2 separate regions of the Homo sapiens genome follow, and region 2 is linked to region 1. The links are contacts of gene promoters, found by promoter capture Hi-C in human tissues and cell types (Jung and others, 2019). All regions are on one chromosome and are shown on one strand. Each heading gives the region's core, a stretch centred on a gene start or on the middle of the fragment in contact. The rest is flanking DNA. Distances are from core to core; before and after follow the strand shown.

Evidence for each region. The method cuts DNA at HindIII sites, captures the fragments that hold promoters and counts their contacts. A contact is called where the count stands out against the background at its distance.
Region 2: a fragment that was not itself captured here is called in contact with the fragment with the promoter of ARID5B in region 1 in 1 of the 25 tissues and cell types used here (dorsolateral prefrontal cortex).

Annotation. Positions count from the first base shown.
Region 1 is chr10:61,899,075-61,904,905 of GRCh38, forward strand. ARID5B (AT-rich interaction domain 5B) reads left to right here and starts at 2,625. Exons shown (of 10, transcript NM_032199.3): 1 at 2,625-2,656; 2 at 3,085-3,339. The coding sequence starts at 2,636. RefSeq lists silencers at 1,147-1,316, 4,057-4,376 and an enhancer at 2,315-2,817. The HindIII fragment of the contact is 5,601 bases long and covers 1-5,420 here.
Region 2 is chr10:62,440,404-62,446,234 of GRCh38, forward strand. It overlaps a transcript of ZNF365 not described here. Among named protein-coding and RNA genes, the nearest start is that of ZNF365, 69 kb to the left of the region's middle. The HindIII fragment of the contact is 5,382 bases long and covers 528-5,831 here.

The DNA of each region.
Region 1 (5,831 bases), core at 1,375-3,874:
AAACAGGGTTTCTAATTAGATGAAGTTCGTTACACACTTAAAGACTTACAGCACCAAAGACAGTAGAAGTAGCTTAGATGCTGTAAAGAGCTGTATAATTTTTTAAGAAAGAGATTTAATATACAATTGAGGGATACCCTCAGGCATTCTGTTGAGGTTTCCTGCATAAATGCTGCTGCATTGGTCATACAGGAAACTGACTCAGAGTCGATCTCAAATACGATCTTGTCAAAATACTGCAACTCAAGTTTTTTTAATATAGGATTTCTTGAACTGGATGTATATATTTACGCTAACACGACAGAGACTAACAGAAGCTTTAGGCATATCTATTTTTAAAAAAGACATGTAAAATGCCCCTCAGTCAAGTCCATTCATATGTTAAAAATGAACAAAATGGGCGATTCTAATCAAACGTCTGCAGTATGCATTATAAAGTTAAAAAGAGAGAGAGAAAGCGCAGGAGAGCTATAATTTCTCTTTGTAACCCATGTTTATAAAATAGAAAGATCAGATGAAATTTCAAGAGATAATTAAAGAGTGATGTGCAAGTCATAATTTGGCTAATGTTAAAGATGGGAGACTGCGAATTGTAGTCCTCCATGGTGCAGAGTTGTGATATTACTTTAAATTATTAAAATAGTTTTCGACAGCTTTCAGAATACCGGCTCTTTGGCATGGGCTTTTATTATTTATTGTAATTAGAGGATCTGCCATTTTCTTTCGTTTATCTCTGTGTGTATAGAAACGAGATAGATTTTGCCTTTTATTACTTCCCCATATTCTGAATCAAAAATGTGGTTTAGATAATGTTAAGTGCCCTAATTCTTACTGCAGCGGACGCAGACGTTATGAAAAGGCATAAAAATACACACAGAGGGTCTTTCCACCTCAAGTCACTGAATATGAGGCATTTGTGCTCTGCCGGGTGTATTAACTTCAGCCATGTGAATATAATTTTCATTAAAGTAATCCTGTTTCAACTAGATGCTGTGACTAGAGGTGAAACGTTGCGAAAGCGTTAAAAATAGCTTACTAGTAATTTCAACATCCTGTAATTTTATCACAGATCAAGTTTCAACTGTCATACTATACAGACCTTATTCCCCATATAGTACATGTTTACTTTTTTAGCATGCCAGACCCACTTTGGAAAGATTGGTGCCAATATAATAAAAGCTGGAGGGGGGGTGTGCTGGAAGGAGTGGGAGGAGAGCGGGGAAGGGGGTGGGGGAACGTGGGGGAAGCGAGTACACCATTTTAAATCAACACTGCGAAAATGCAATCTAGCCTGGCGGAGGACCGGCAGCTGGGTCGGAGCTTGCGAGGGCTTTGCAGTCTCTGCCTGTTCCTTGTTCTGTCGCTCTTAAGTTTCTCTGTGTTTGCATAATAGCCGTGCATGCAAACCTCGCAATGCTCCAGGGCTCCAGAACAATAAATATACACATTTAAAGCCTTTATTGTCTTACGGTTCATGCCCCCGGTTTTCAACAGCTTAATTTCTGGTTGTATTTAACTAGTTTGCAAATGGATTTTTTCAGTTTCAAACTATTATTGAGGAAGCTCCCCTCCCTTTTTTGGCGGGGGAGGGGATGGGGGTGGGGTAGGAGTCGGTATATTATTCCTGTAGCGCTGGGTTATATAAACACATTATCATTTGAGAGCGCCCTTGGCGTCCATCAGCATTGTAAACACGTACTAGTGTATATACTTCAAAATTAAAGAATGCACACGCAGAACCGGGAGCCTGAATTCATATTCTGAGCAGACTCGCTTCTCGCATTTATTGATTTATCATGCATCGTTTATTGTTCCAGTCCCTAAATGCAGTCGCTGTCCGTTCAATATTGTTTGCGAAATCCTAAGATGTGTGTGCACTGCTCACTTGTCTCTTTTTTTTTTGCTGAGTATTTTTTTGCGAAGCGAACAAATGCATTAATATTTATATGTTTATATAATCGATAACCCACTTTTCCCTTCCATGTAAATAGGCATCAAAAGATAATTTAACAGATTAGTTCTCGAAAACATGGCAGTGAGGAAGCGTAATTTAACTATCAAACAAATCTACATGTCTAATAACAGCAAATCTGCTAAGAAGCATTAGAAAGAGGAGCAGCGCCCCGGAATCTCTGCAGGAAATGTTCTTTATATTAGACATATACAAGCAGGTCCTGTCAGATGCACAGTGGAGCTCGCTACCCCTCCTCTCCTCCAAAAATCTCATCAGACGATATCCCAGACAGGAGCGGTTAGAGAGAGAGGAATCACATCTCCACACAGTTTTAGGGTGCTTTTTATTTTTACAAATCTTCTTGTGTGTTTTTTGCCTTGATCCATCCTCTTCCCGCCGAGATCGTATGGCGCCTTTCTCTCGATTATGAATTTGATCAATCCATCTTTGGAAGAAAACCCACATAGTTTTTTCAGGAGCTGAAAATTGAGTCGTTATAGAAATATTAGGACATATTTTCAATCATTTCGGTGCCCGAAGGGAGGCAAGAGCTCAGTTTTATATTGAGACATTACGCCGGCTGAAGGCAGAGAATGCGTTTCCCTGCCAGGACCTGATGCAATCCATTCAAGCCAACAAGTTTGGAGAGAATGTTGAGTTCAATCAATTCAGAACGTCGAGATGGAGCCCAACTCACTCCAGGTATTTCGCTCTCCTCCGCTCCTCCGATCCCGGCACCCCCCGGCACCCCCCAACCCCCCAGCTCACCCACACCTCTGCACCCACCCACACCCCCCACAAACTTTTCACCAAACTTTTACCCTCTGCATCCCCCAAAATCATTTTTATTGTTTAAAAAAATCCCTGCACTGATCATACATACATAATGTAATTTTACCGCCTCAAATGGGGAGGTGGGTAGAAGTGGCGGTGGGGGGCCCTGAGTTTTTTTTTTTTTTTTTTTAGGGAAGCAGAAAATTTGTGGGTGCTATTATTTTTCCACCCAGCGTTATATCTGTTGGGTCGTCTGTATTAAGAGAGTGGATGTCTGTGTGTAAATGTGTCTGGGAATAGATGTTTGTGCTCTGATGGCTACATTATTTATTTGGTGTTTTTTTCCCCCCCTGCAGTGGGTCGGCTCACCGTGTGGCTTGCACGGACCTTACATTTTCTACAAGGCTTTTCAATTCCACCTTGAAGGCAAACCAAGAATTTTGTCCCTTGGCGACTTTTTCTTTGTAAGATGTACGCCAAAGGATCCGATTTGCATAGCGGAGCTCCAGCTGTTGTGGGAAGAGAGGACCAGCCGGCAACTTTTATCCAGCTCTAAACTTTATTTCCTCCCAGAAGACACTCCCCAGGGCAGAAATAGCGACCATGGCGAGGTGGTAAACCTGTCTGTCCCCCTCTTCTTTCTTTATTATTTTTCCCCCTAGTAATGCTTATTACAGGGCAAGCTTGAAAATACTGTATTCACTTCTGCAGGCAAGCAGGATCGACTCCTTTTTTAAAGGGGTAGCGCCACTAGCTGGGGCTCGAGTATTTTGCCATTGTCAGAGTTTGGCTGTCAGCTTTACAAAGAGGATCCAACTGCTGATTTTAGTCAAGATCAAATAACTTGTTCGAGAAGGGTTTTGTTCAAGGATGTGTGTGTGTGTGTGTGTGTGTGTGTGTATGTGTGTGTGTGTGTTCATTTGCTCTCCTGCTATTGCCTCTTGAACATCACATGCTTTTTATATTTTTTGCCTTTTGAAAATTTACCTTCGTGTCTGGCTCGGTCGTGTCTGGGTGGATTTCTTTCGGTGGGTTTCGATATTGTTCTTTTTTCAAAGTAAGTATTTGATATGTTTAAGAGGGCGGAAATTACGAAATGGAGGCAGAATGAGATCAAAAGCTATTGAGTTGGCAAAGACGTGTTGAATAAAGTGATAAATGACAGGTACTGGAATAATACATTCAAATAACTTGCAGATCTGCCCGGGCGGATTTCAAAGCGGTGGTGTAACAGGCACAAACACGTTAAGCATTAACAACTATCTCTCGCCCACTCCCCCTCCCCCCGGACAAGCCATTTGATGTTCTAGTTTGCAATTACTCCACGCAAAGTGGACGTCCTCCTGCGCGATCTTTGGGGGTGTGTGGGACGGGGGCGGGGGAGGGGAGGGCAGAGGGGTGTGTGCTCGCCCACTGGCCCTGCGGGTCCAGCGTTCTCCGTGCCCAGACGGCGCTCCCGGGGAGGGCGGGGAGGGGACAGAGCCTCCCCGGCACGTTTCTGGGCGGCCGCGGGGGCGCTCGCCGCGCTCCCGGGAGGACGCCGGAGGTGAGCCCGCTGTCACTGGGCGCCGGGGCGGCCGCCTCCCTTCGGCTCTGTCATTTCATGTGTGACCGCAGTTCTGCGGGCTCCCCTCCTCAGCTGACCGACCTCAGCGCCGTGGTACCTACCGAGGGGAACTATTTTGGGGAGTCTGTGCCCACGGCGCAGCGGGGAGGGAGGGCGCACTGCCGCCTGGCGAGGCTTTGTGTTGCCAAAGCGAGAGCAGGGTAATCAAACAGACTTTTGAGGGCAGCTAGTGCTGTGCCAGGCTCTCGAGCTTTCGAGGTAGGTGTAAGGATCTAAGGATCTTTTTGTTAAATGAATGGTTTCCCGTTTAACTCATCCCGGGGCTCGGAGCTGCCAGTCCTTCCAGAATTCCTCGGTTTGATCGAGTTGATAGTACTTTTGGCATTGCTAGTTCACTCCCTCTCCCCAGGATCGAATTACTCGTCAGTGGTCTATGCCGGTTAATTACTGGAGTTCGTCGAAACGTTCGCCCTCGAATCTGCCTTTTCGGAAATAAGCCCCTCCCACCTCCCCGCTCACCTCCCCCCTCCACCCTCCCCGGCCAGCTTTGGTTTTTAAATGTTCATATTTCCCGACGTCCGCCTGCAATTTTAAAAAGGTGTTGTTTGGAAATACTGTGAAAAATCCTGCAACCTACCAACAGGTTGAGCTCTTTCCCCCTCCCAAGGTCTGGCTCGGCCCCCTCCCCCGACCCAACTTTCCTGCGCAGCTGTCTTCCTCCCCCTCCCTCTCCCCCTCCTGATTTCTTATTATTTGCTTTTCAAATTTATTACTTCAACATGGCCTGTGATCTGGAAAAGGGAAGGATTAAATATCCAGAAAAGAACTGGTGCTTAACAGACTTCTGACTAAGTCCAGGAGGAAATTATTCAGTGTTTTATGGGATATTTTGTGGTCACTCTTTTTTGGGGGGCGGGGAATTGAAATTGGGATGTTTTTTAAAGACCCTGAGTTGACCCCACTTGGTACAGTTTTAATTTTTGTTGGTGTAATTAAATGGTGAATTCTGATTTAAGAATAAAGGCTATATTTGCCAAACGTTGCATCTGCTAGAAGTGTTGACAGTGAATAGATATATTTTTAAATACACGATTTCTTTTTAATTGTTCATTATGGGGAATTGAAAGGGAACCATTGTAATGATCTGTGCATTTCGTCACTGCTATATGAGCCATACCTGAGAAAATTAATCTTGCCATTTAAAAGTAAACTCTAGGGGGTTTGCGGAGGGAGATGGCTCTATTTATAATCCTCAGCTGCATATACATCGTCTAATATTATGCATGATTTGTTTTTTAATGCTAACACGGCTGGTAATTAGCTGTATGATTATACTTGTATATTTCATTAGGACTTTGGCTGATGTCATTGTGAATTATTCAGCCATATTAAAACAATTTTCAATTGAGATAATGACACGCCTCAAAATTATGCAAATGCAGACTGCATTGTGCAAAATAATTATGACAAATGTAAAGCAGGTAGAAAGTTTCCCAATGCAGATCGGTTTTCCACCCTGGTGATGTCATTTCCCCC
Region 2 (5,831 bases), core at 1,969-4,468, 540 kb after region 1:
CCTCCACCCTCAAGCAGACTGCAATGTCTGTTGTTTCCTTCTTTGCATAAAAATTTACTTTTAGAGGGCAGAGGTTTTTCTTCTATCTTTATGTCTACCAGCACTGTGCCTTGTACAGAGTTTACAGACAATGGGTGAATAAGTAGGGGGAGAGAGAAGGGAAGAAAGTTAGAAGCAGCAAAATGCATTTAGCAAATTGACAGATATGAGATAGAGAATTGTAAGTTCCTTGAAATGAAAATACTGCCTTACTAATTGTGTATCTCTATAGTAGTGTTTGTAAAAGTGTCATCTCATTATTCAGAATCAGCTGGAGCTTTGCTGAAATCCGATTCCTGGTCCCTACCTTAAAACTACAGAAACAAAATGTCTGAAAGTACACCCAGGAATCACTTGTGATTTACTCACTTGTGAATTACTGCCTCAGTGCCTGGCAAAGTCCTTCCTACATATTAGATATTTAGTAAATAACAGAATGAATACATCATCCGATCTCTAAAGTCATTCCTTTAAAACCTAATGTCTTTATGTGATGAGGCAAATATTTCCCTCACAAAAGAGAAAAGGCCCTCTTCAAGTGGGCAAAATATTTTCCTTGATAACTAAGAAGACAAATAAATTATTTAAATATTCACTTACTCATAATTGATGATTATTATGAGTATTCTTTGTGCTTTATCTACATTGTTTGGTTGAATCCCCATAAAAAGTCCAAGAAGCAGATATTATTATTATCCCCATTTTATAGATAAGAAATGAATAACCAGTGAGGTTAAATTGCTTGGCTAAGGTCATACAGCCAGTATGTTGCAGAGCTGAGAGTCAAATCTAAGGATGTCTGATTCTAAAGTCCATACTTAGAACCATTCTACACCCATTGGCAGTTTCTTTTTGCTCCCAGGTCCCACGTTGTTCATGAAGCCTTCTTTGACTTTTTGCATCGATTTTATCTATACCATATATATTAGTTCTTTAAATAGCAAAATCCTAGAATGCTAGAGAAAGAAGAACACAGGGGCCATCTAGACCATTTTCTTTATTTTATAGATAAGAAAATTGAGGCTCAGAGACATGATCTTATTAGAAGTCATACAGACCTCAGTCATCCACACAGGGCAGAACCTTACTGATTCTTGGGGCCTGCTTCTAGAGTCTCTGGGTGCGTAAATCAGATGCAAGGGCCTGGTAATACAGCTCCATGGTTGTGTCCAGTCATCAGCCAAAGTTGGGAATCACATATTCTATATCACTTGGCATTTCATCTGTGTTGTCTTATCTCTCCAACCTTACTTTAATTGGAAGCTTGCTCTATATTTTGGGATCCCTACAATGTCCAGCAAATAACTGGACCTATTTTACATGTTTAATATATGCTTGTGAATTGAATCGAAGAAAGTTTGAGATACTGGATATTTCACTAGGAGGTGGCAGGGAAATGGATTATAGCAATTTAGTAAGGCCACATAACAGCAAATACTTCAGGTGGGAGGCAGAATAGATGGTGATTATAAGATTTGGCTTGTCTCGTTTGCTTCAGCTCATAATGATTCCGGAGCCCCGTCAATCAAAGATTTCAGATTGCAGAGTCTTGATTTCTGATTTTCTTTTGCCTTCCCAAGCTGGGTAGACATGCTTAGCAAACGTGATCCCCAGATGCTTGGGACATGTCTTACACTGCTATAAGCACACAGAACCAAACCCCAGTGACACTCTTGCCTTGGAGTGGCAGAGCCTTATATGGAAACAGAGTGTACTTTTCGTTTTACTGGGGGATCTTTAAATAGCAAGGAACAGCAACTCAAAGCTTTCCAAAGAGCTACTTAAAGTTATTTTTCTCCATGACAACAGCCTGGCAATAAGGATAGAATTTAAAGAGCCAGGATCCCAAGTCGAAAGAGAGAAGGAAAATTTCCCTGCTAAATTGAATGCTCAGAGATGAATCAAAGCCAGAGTGTAAATTCCATACATTGACTCACAACTATAGAACAGATGAGATGAGCAATCAAACTACATTCTTTAATTAACTGTATGCAAAATCGCGGATATTTAAAGGTGTTCACTTGGTGGTGGGTGGGGTGGAGGGAGATACTCACAGGCTTACGTTACAATTGCTGGTGCTGAAACGATGGCTTCATTTTCTTGCTTGTTACCTTTAGAAGTTTGGAGGGATGGATGTCATTTGGCTGCTTAAAGGTCAACTTCTAAATAATCCTCCTGGCCTTCTTCCTTTGCCTGCACCTAGCAGAAACACCTTTGCCCTGTCTCTTGAAATCCTACTCCTCCACATAGGCTATGGTGGACTCAACTCCTGGTTCTTCTTTTCCAACAAGGGAAAATATTCAGATGTCTTCTCAGGGAGTCCTCACATTGGCTTTTTATTTTTCTAATCTGAGAGGCTGGCTTTATCCCCAACATGGGGGGAATTTCTGAGATTTACCTTCCACTTCTGATCATCCCCAGGAATGAGGACGGACTTGCCCTGATAACTTCCTTACCCTCCACTCCTGACCAAGTTCTAGTCCACTGGAGCACCATTAGCTTTAGAATTGATCAACCCCAGAAACAGAACAGATTCAATTGTCCGTCGCATACAGGGATGCACTCAACAGTGCTCCCTGCAAGGGCTCAACCGGGCTTTGAATTCTGAATCACCGGACACTCTGTTTAGTGACACGTAGCTCTCTAGCTACAGTGGCAGTTTTTACCACTGACCAGTGCCCGTGATGACCTTTCATTTGGCAAACATTGAGTGCCCTTTATAAGTCAAGCACTAAGTACAGCACTGAAGCAGTGAATAAATCAGTTATCAGCTTCTTCCTTCTGAGGTGAAAGGGATTTTCCTGTAATGATTGGTTCTAGTTCTGCCCTTTGAAAGCATATAATTAGTTATTCCATTCCTTCAGAAAACTGGAGACAAACAGAGACCCTCAATGTCTGTTGTCACTCTGATCACTCCTTCTTTTGTGTATGCCCCAGTTGGTCAGTGACCCTTTCAAAGGAGACTGCTTAGAATTTTACCTTCCTTCTCGGGTTCCTCTGCCTTGTGTTTAGATGCTCTGGTTTTATTACAGTTCCCTGGTTCGGAGCAGTTACATGGCTTATCATGTTTCCAGAGCCTAGAGGTGCAAGCTTGCATATGTATATGTCTCTTGGGGAGAAGGAGTTAAAAACATTAACTTCAACCTGGGGAGTTGTTTTTCTTCTCCTGCTCTTTAACCAGAAAATAAATGTGATTGTAGCTTTGAAAACTGAAATGCTAGCTTTTAAACAACTGGCAAATAATAGCGTTCAAGATTTCAAGGGGAAAATGGGCTCCATAAAACTTCTGTGCTCAGAACCCCCACATTGTCCTTTTAGTTGGTAAATTGAGAATAAGTGGCAATGAGGAGGTAATCGCCTTTAACTGCATTTCACTGAGAACTAATGTCCCTGTGACCAGTAAATAATGTTAACTTAAAAAAAAATTAAGCCAGGCCTCTCCACTGTGACAACTTAAATATGCAATGATTACAGTCTTGAACTTTTGCCCCCATGGAGTACAGCTTGACTGTGAGGAAAGGGGTACATTCATCTGTTCCACCAAAGCATTCTCAATGCCATCCATGACAAAAGTTTTGGACTGATATTATCAAGGATTAGGCAATCCCTCTGCTCTTAGACTTGGCATCTTCTAGGGCTGAGAAGTGTCAGACTGACTCCAGGAAGCATCAGCCATTTCCTCTCACTCCAGGGACAGGAAGGACTGACTTATTCCCCTGCTGATTATTTTCTGCCCCCATTTCCCATCTTGTTCTGCTCCCCAGATGCATTCTCTGCTCTTCTCTGTGCCCTGGGAGGCTGATCCCTGCAGATACATCTCTTGGTGTGCTGGCTGATTTTGAGTTGAGTTTGGCCATTGAGAGGCCCCGGTAGGAGACAGGAGAGTGGGAAGAGAGGTCAGTGTATAACTTCTGAGCCCTCTGCTTCTGTAGTATGTCTCTAGAAGTAGCTGCGCTCAATTACTTCAAATTACAGCTTCTGCCAATTAGCTCCTTATCTATGGTTCTAGTTTTCAGTAGACTCTAGCAATTGTCTTGGCCCTGGGCCCCAGGGCTGGTAATGGCCCTAGGAGGCTGGTAATAGCCTCCTATTGTTGCTAGTCTCTGGATGCATCAACCACCCTAACTTTTCCTTAACCTGCCCTCTCCTCTGTCCTTACATCTTCTTCATTCAAATCACCTGGAATGAATTCTTTCCTGCATGGGCCCTGGCAGTTAAACTTCTGAATGTTCGAATCTCTTCTTGTAAGTCATGTAATGCCATGCCATCAACTCCAGGGAAGCCTTCTTACCTCTTTCAGGCAGATGCAGTCCCCAGTTCTTTTATTTTATTTTATTTTATTATTATTATACTTTAAGTTTTAGGATACATGGGCACATAGTGCAGGTCAGTTACATATGTATACATGTGCCATGCTGGTGTGCTGCACCCATTAACTCGTCAGTTAGTATTAGGTATATCTCCTAATGCTATCCCTCCCCCCTCTCCCCACCCCACAACAGTCCCCAGAGTGTGATGTTCCCCTTCCTGTGTCCATGTGATCTCATTGTTCAATTCCCACCTATGAGTGAGAACACGAGGTGTTTGGTTTTTTGTCCTTGCGATAGTTTACTGAGAATGATGATTTCCAATTTCATCCATGTCCCTACAAAGGACATGAACTCATCATTTTTTATGGCTGCATAGTATTCCATGGTGTATATGTGCCACATTTTCTTAATCCAGTCTATCATTGTTGGACATTTGGGTTGGTTCCAAGTCTTTGCTATTGTGAATAGTGCCACAATAAACATACATGTGCATGTGTCTTTATAGCAGCATGATTTATAGTCCTTTGGGTATATACCCAGTAATGGGATGGCTGGGTCAAATGGTATTTCTAGTTCTAGATCCCTGAGGAATCACCACACTGACTTCCACAATGGTTGAACTAGTTTACAGTCCCACCAACAGTGTAAAAGTGTTCCTATTTCTCCACATCCTCTCCAGCACCTGTTGTTTCCTGACTTTTTAATGATTGCCATTCTAAGCAGTCCCCAGTTCTAAGAGCAGGGGTGAGGCAGCCCCAACCAGGTCGCTCATCAGAATTGCATGGAGAGCTTTGAAAAAGATGCAGATCCTGAGATCCCACCTATTGAATGGCACTTTTCTAGAGTGAGGTTTTACAGTTTCTATTTTTAAAAAGATCTGAGCAAGAGGGCAAGGTGGTGATAATTGTGCAAGTTAGGTGCTGGATACGTGGGATTTGTTACACCATTTTCTCTACTTTTGTGTATGTTTGAAAGTTTTCGCTACAAAAAAGAATCATATTAAGATTCTAAGTTGAGAACCACTGATTCAAAGTGGAAATCTGATATTTGTTTTGCTCATCTCATTGTTCTTTTTCTTCATTGGCCTCGGTCAGACCATGGTAGGGTCCCCATATGTGTAAACAATTGGAACGAGGCAGAGATCCAGCATCTTCTATTGACTGTAGTCTTAGGCACCATGAACCCAGGAACTCTGGTCTTGTCTCATCGGATACCTTTATAGATTGGGTTGAGCTGATTTGGCCAAATCTATTGGTCTTTTTTGAGCAGTTCCCACTCACATAGACACAATTTGTGACCTTTAACCAAATTCTGTAAGTGTAAGGTTGGAAAACCCAAGTCACTGCACTCTGGGATGGCTCTCCTTCCCTTCTTTATGAGAAAGTTCTCAGGAGTCCCGCAGTTCTATTTGTACTGTACCAGAAAAGGACCCAGAGTTCCAAGTAGCAAATTCAGGTTTCCAGTCCCTGCTCCTGTGTGATC